2 separate regions of the Homo sapiens genome follow, and region 1 is linked to region 2. Evidence: promoter capture Hi-C in human tissues and cell types (Jung and others, 2019). All regions are on one chromosome and are shown on one strand. Each heading gives the region's core, a stretch centred on a gene start or on the middle of the fragment in contact. The rest is flanking DNA. Distances are from core to core; before and after follow the strand shown.

The links. The method cuts DNA at HindIII sites, captures the fragments that hold promoters and counts their contacts. A contact is called where the count stands out against the background at its distance.
Region 1: a contact is called between a fragment that was not itself captured here and the fragment with the promoter of SIVA1 in region 2, in 1 of the 25 tissues and cell types used here (dorsolateral prefrontal cortex).

Annotation. Positions count from the first base shown.
Region 1 is chr14:103,694,079-103,696,919 of GRCh38, forward strand. The region is part of intron 15 of KLC1 (kinesin light chain 1); the gene reads left to right. Among named protein-coding and RNA genes, the nearest start is that of XRCC3, 20 kb to the right of the region's middle. The HindIII fragment of the contact is 3,456 bases long and covers 1-2,841 here.
Region 2 is chr14:104,751,396-104,754,477 of GRCh38, forward strand. It overlaps SIVA1 (SIVA1 apoptosis inducing factor), which reads left to right and starts at 1,752. Exons shown (of 4, transcript NM_006427.4): 1 at 1,752-1,924. The coding sequence starts at 1,807. All of the region lies in intron 2 of LOC107987209 (a long non-coding RNA gene), which reads right to left. RefSeq lists enhancers at 778-867, 1,571-2,072, 1,718-1,767, 1,778-1,847 and a silencer at 1,248-1,617. The HindIII fragment of the contact is 10,762 bases long and covers 1-3,082 here.

The DNA of each region.
Region 1 (2,841 bases), core at 66-2,565, 1.1 Mb before region 2:
AAGCTTAGCGGACACTGGTCAGTGGGAAGTGAATTCCTTCCCAGCTGGAGCATCTTCCGGGTCTCTCTTTCCAAGGTCCCCATGCCTGTGGCCCTGGGGCCCCATGCCCCCTTTTGAGCTGTGTTCTCCCGGACGCCCCTGCACACGAAGCCCATAGAGACGTGTGTTTCACTTTTTTTTTTTTTTTTTTTGAGACGGAGTCTAACTCTGTTGCCCAGGCTGGAGCGCAGTGGCCCAATCTCGGCCCACTGCAAGCTCCACCTCCTGGGTTCACGCCATTCTCCTGCCTCAGCCTCCCGAGTAGCTGGGACTACAGGCACCCGCCAGGCGGATCACAAGGTCAGGAGATCGAGACCATCCTGGCTAACATGGCGTTTCACTTTTTAAAAGCTTAAGCTTTATGGAATGAGGGAGCACGGTGGACTCTGACAGGAACCTTTTCAAATCAATGCTGAGGCTGTATTTCTTAGCCGTCCACAAACTAGTCCATAGGTAAAGAGCATACAAAACAGACGCCGAGGTGATCAGTGATTCCAAAGGCTGACGCTCAGCAGCGCCACCTCCATGCCAGCCAACTAGGCTACGGGATGGAGGGGCGGTCTGTGAAACACCAGCCATCCCGTGAAAGCTCAGCTTGCCACTGTCATGTAACAGGGTGGGTGGTGGCACAGCAGAGGCTCACACTTGTCACCTTCAGCCTCTAGAAGCTCCCCGTGGGGCACGAAGGCTGGGGACAGAGTGTCCTGAGGTTTTGTTACAAGGCTAGACTTTAAAATACCTTTCAAAGTTTCATCCCGCCTCATGTCGCAGGACTGCTGTGTTTGTGAAAGCGCGTTTGTTTCCACAAGACAAGCTCCGTGTAGTCGCCAGCGGGTGCCTGGCCCAGGAGCTGCCCTGTGGAGCCAGCGTTGTCCCCGAGCTGCTCGCCTGTGGCCGTGGCTCCTTTTCTGAGGCTCCTGACTCCATTCTTGCAGATTCTGGTGGATCAGGAGCTTACATTCTAAATGCTACATAGAGGTGTTGAAGAAAATTTCATAGGTTCTGTAATAGTGGATGGGATTAAAAGAAAAAATGTTAAATTATATATATATATATGGCTGGGTGCGGTGGTTCATGCCAGTAATCCTATAATCTTAGCACTTTGGGAGGCTGAGGCGGGAGGATCACTTGAGCCCAGTTCAAGAACAGCTTGGGCAACACAGCGAGTCCCTGTGTCTAGCAAAAAAAACCATGTGTATATATATATATATGTGTGTGTGTGTATATATATATATATATATATACATACATATATATACATATATAATTTGATGGGTTGTGAGAAGCCAACCCCCCCCAAAAAAAGGGGGGTGTAGAGCAGCTTCCCCTGACAGGTGCCGTGGCTGCCCCCGTAGTGGGCTATGTCTGTGCACAGGCGACAGGGAGGAGGGCTCCGGAGCTTCCCTTGTGGTGGGGGTGCCTTCTCCCTGTGAGGATGCTGAGCAGAGTTTGGAACCCAGACAGTTTCCCTTAGTGACAGTTATCTGGAAAGGAAAAAGGGCATTTAGAAGGAATAAACATAGGGCTGAATATGGAGTTGAATTTTAACCTCTTCAGACTGATGGGTGCAGACGAGGTTGTGTGGGGCCTCTGTGGAGCCTGCTGTGGCTTCCAGCCATGGGACTTTAGGGCCGAGGTGGCCTCTGCAGCACTGTGGCTGTGGGAGCACTGTGTGTTGGGGTAAGAGAAGCCAGGGGGCCTCCCTGAAGCCAGCTCATAAAGGAAGGTTCGTGTTTCAGAGGGAGGCGGCAAGGGAATCTGAGTACCTGAGTCCCCGATGTTTGAACCCTTCCACCCAATAGAAGTGCGGTGATTTCAGCCATTTCCCATCTGGCGGTCTGAATTTTTCCCTTCAGAGGAGAGAAGTGGTGGGCCCAGGCATCCCTCCTCCTGTGTGTGGTCGTTCTGGTGAGAGGAACCCCACGCGAGAGTCAGCACCTGTTTCTTCAGAGTTGCTGTCAAAATAATCACTGCGCCCCCGCCCCCCGCCCCCCCCCACAGCAGCCGTGTGTGCAGCGCCCGTCCCCAGCAACCATGGCATGGGAGCGTCTGGATCTGTGGGCGGACAGCATATCTCTGGGTAGTTGGTGCAGCTGTGGCAGAAATCAGGCCCCTGGGGAAGTCCTGTGACATGGATGCTTCCCTGAAGCAGCAGCAGTGTGTGGCTCAGGGGTCCTCAGAGGCCGGTGGTGCCCGCGGGTGGCACGGGGCACTCTCATGGGCAGCACTTGGTCTTGTGTTTACAGTATTGGAGGGATTCACATCGTTGTTTTCTGGATTAAGCTGCTAGGAGTATCATGTACTTAGAAATTCAGTGTTTATAGTAAGATGTATTAAACATTGCTAATGATGTATCGTTACAATGTATAACAGGTTTTCCATTGTCATAACTGTATGGAATTTTCTTGGAGGATGTCATTAGCTTCTGTTTGCACTGACTTGTGAGCTGTGTGTACGCTGTGGTCAGATTTCTGAATGCTGTAGAGCACTTACCAGCTCTGACCGTGTCTTGCTGGGGCCAGCAGGCTGCGTGTGCAGCGGGGCCAGCTGTCTCAGGGCTGATATGTAGACGTGTATTCTGTTTACAATTAGTTCCCCAACTCTGTGGGGAAGAACTTAAGCGGTTTTAGTGTTTTATAATATGGTGAGGCAATGAGGGTCAGGGCGCGTGGTCCCTGAGGGAGGGTCTTCAGGGCAAGACCCATGGCCCTGGCCTGGAACTGTGCTCCCCAGGGCGTGGTGCCTCCCTAAGGGGATGGTCAGTGTTCTGGGACTGACTGCCAGGCCAGCCCGTCTGCAGAC
Region 2 (3,082 bases), core at 502-3,001:
CAATCCCTTAGCTTGACATAAAGGTTCTCCAAGTCGCCGCTAGACTCAGGAGCCCAGCTGGCTTCACCTAGTGGATCCCACACCGGGGCTGCAGGTGGAGCTGCCCGCCAGTCCCGCGCCGTGCGCCCGCACTCCTCAGCCCTTGGGCGGTCGATGGGACCGGGTGCCGCGGAGCAGGGGGCCGCGCAAGAGCCCACGGCAGGGGGGAGACTCAGGCATGGCGGGCTGCAGGTCCTGAGCCCTGCCTCGCGGGGAGGCAGCTGAGGCCCGGTGAGAATTCGAGCGCAGCGCCGGCGGGCCGGCACTGGTGGGGGACCCGGCGCATCCTCCGCAGCTGCTGGCCCGGGTGCTAAGCTCCTCACTGCCTGGGGCCGGTGGCTCCGATTGCGGGGCCCGCCGAGCCCACGCCCACCCGGAACTCACGCTGACCCGCAAGCGCCACGTGCAGCCCGGGTTCCCGCCCGCACCTCTCCCTCCACACCTCCCTGCAAGCTGAGGGAGCCGGCTCCGGCCGCGGCCAGCCCAGAGAGGGGCTCCCACAGTGCAGCGGCGGGCTGAAGGGCCCCTCGAGCGCGGCCAGAGTGGGCGCCGAGAGCGAGCGAGGGCTGCCAGCACGCTGTCATCTCTCACAGGGCGAAGCCCACGCCACAGGACGGGTCGGTTCTGTACCCGCCGGGGCAGGGGAGAGCCGCCTCTGGTGAGCAGAACCCCGGAGAAGGGACGACGCGGGTGCACCTCGCGGCATGGGGACACCAAGTCAGACGAACCCGCTGTGCAAGAACATTTTCCACACAGCGGCGCATACCCCCGCCCGGGGGCGCTCGGCAGCCGCACGCGGCCCTCAGAGCGCAGCCCCCACACGCCTTTACTTCTGGAAGGCGGAGACCGCCACAGTGAGGAGCTAAGCCAGCTGAGGCAACACAGAAAAACCCCCGTTCCTACCCAAAACCAAAAAGCGGGGCGCGGAGGCGCGCGCCTGCGGTCCCAGCTACCGGGGAGGCCGAGAAGGGAGGATCGCCTGAGCCCGGGAGGCGCAAGCTACAGTGAGCCGAGACTGCCACTGCACTCAGTCTGGGTGACAGAGCGAGACCCTGTCTCTAAAGGGGAAAAAAGAGCTAGGAAGAAGCGGGCTGCCTCTTAACTTCGGAGAAGTAAATGAGGAACTATAACCAGTGTCTACCGTTTAGGAACCAAACAAAAGCTGACAGGAATCCCGCCACCGACCCAGCCGCCCCAGACTTTGCCCTGGCCTATCCCGCGCCGCTCCTCAAACTAGACCCGCCCCGACGTCGCCCTGGCCTATCCCACGCCGATCCTCAAACGAGGCCCGCCCCCGATGCACAAGCTCCGCCCTCGTTGCACCGTCCTGACCCTCGGCCTCGCCCCCGCCCCCTGGCTCTTCCCGCGCAGCCGAATGCCGCGACCTGGCTCCCACCCTTCGTCGCTTCGCGCCGCATAGGAACCCCGCCCCTAGTCTCTCCTCCCGCCTATCCTGAGCGGCGCGCGCACAAATCTCTCCCACGGACCCGCCCACCCTGATCCTCAACCTGGCCCCTGGCCTTTCCCGCGGCGTCGAGTCCAGTACACCGACGCACGAGTCCCACCCCCGATCTCTCCCTCGGCCTATCCCGCGCCGCTCCGCGCAGGAGTCCCGCCTCCCACTTCGCCCGCAGCCTATGACGCGCCGCGTCGCTCCCTCTCCTCAAACCCGCTCTCGCCCGCGGATGGGCGCGCAGCTGTGACGTCACGGCGTCGTTGGTAAGGGGCTGGCGGCCGGGGAGCTGCGTAGCTCCCGGCCCCGCGGCCATGCCCAAGCGGAGCTGCCCCTTCGCGGACGTGGCCCCGCTACAGCTCAAGGTCCGCGTGAGCCAGAGGGAGTTGAGCCGCGGCGTGTGCGCCGAGCGCTACTCGCAGGAGGTCTTCGGTGAGTGTCGGGCGGGCTGCCGAGGGTCCGCTGCGTCGGGGCCTGGAACGGGCCGGGCCTCAGCGTCCCCTCTGAGGCCTGAGCGGGGGGCTGGAGGGCCCTGCTTTCTGGCCCCGCGTTCCCGGAAGCTGGGAGGCCGCGGGGACACAAGCTGGCCACGCCCAGGGCTGGGGTCAGTGAGGGGGATGTGAGGACCCCAGCGTTCGCCCACCCTGTCCAACAGCCTGAAAGAAAAGGGTCCCTGCCCCTAGCCCCCGCGCCCTCTTCCACGATCCCGGTTAGTCGCCGCCCTGCAGTGAGCGGCACCCGCCTGGTGCTTTCTCAGGACTGTCCCGTGCAGGATGTCCTGGGAGAGGTTGGGGAGCGGGGCGTCCTGCATGGAGTCAACCCGAAGAGTGCCCCTCCTGTCCCAAGAGGTATTCATGGAGCGCGCGGCCCTGCCAGGCACGGCGGCTTTCTCGGGAGACCAAAGGCAGGCAAGACAGATGTGCCCCGTCTCCCGGGAGCTCCCCAGCCTAGTTGGGGAGACCAGCAGGAGGAGTCGCCACAGGTGGTCGGGGCAGGCACAGGTTTGTGCAGGCGCACCTGCAGGGATGGCACGGAAGGCTTCTTGGAAGAACAGTCTGAGCGGAATCCTGTGGGGGCGAGTAGGAGTTAGCCAGGCAGAGGAAGGGAAGGAAGAGGGCGAGGCAGAAGCCAGGCAGCAGGAGAGCGAAATAGGACTCCGTGTGGCTGCAGTGTCCAGTTCTGGGTGGGATGTGAGGGCAGTGAGCTCCCAGGCCTTCTCTGGCTTTCTCCTGTGGATTTCAGGCGTGTTGATCTTATTGATCATCACTCTGACTGGGGTGATTAATACCCTGGGGCAGGTAAAAAGTGGAGCTTACCTTGCCTAGTGATTGGGACACAAAGTCTGCACCTGTAGAGCAGTTAGAGGATGACCCGGGGTGTGTGATTTACCTGGTGCCGCTTGTGCCTTGGGAATGAGGGAAAGACTCTGCCTCCCGAGGTTCCTCTGTGCGGTGTCTCCAGTGTGCTAGGGCTGTGAAAGCGAGTGCTATTCTGGGCCATGGGGAGGTAAGGGGAATGATGCCGTGGGAACTGTGGCAGGACCGCAATCGTGTGCCCTCTCAGGACAGTTGAAAAATTCAAACACTGTGC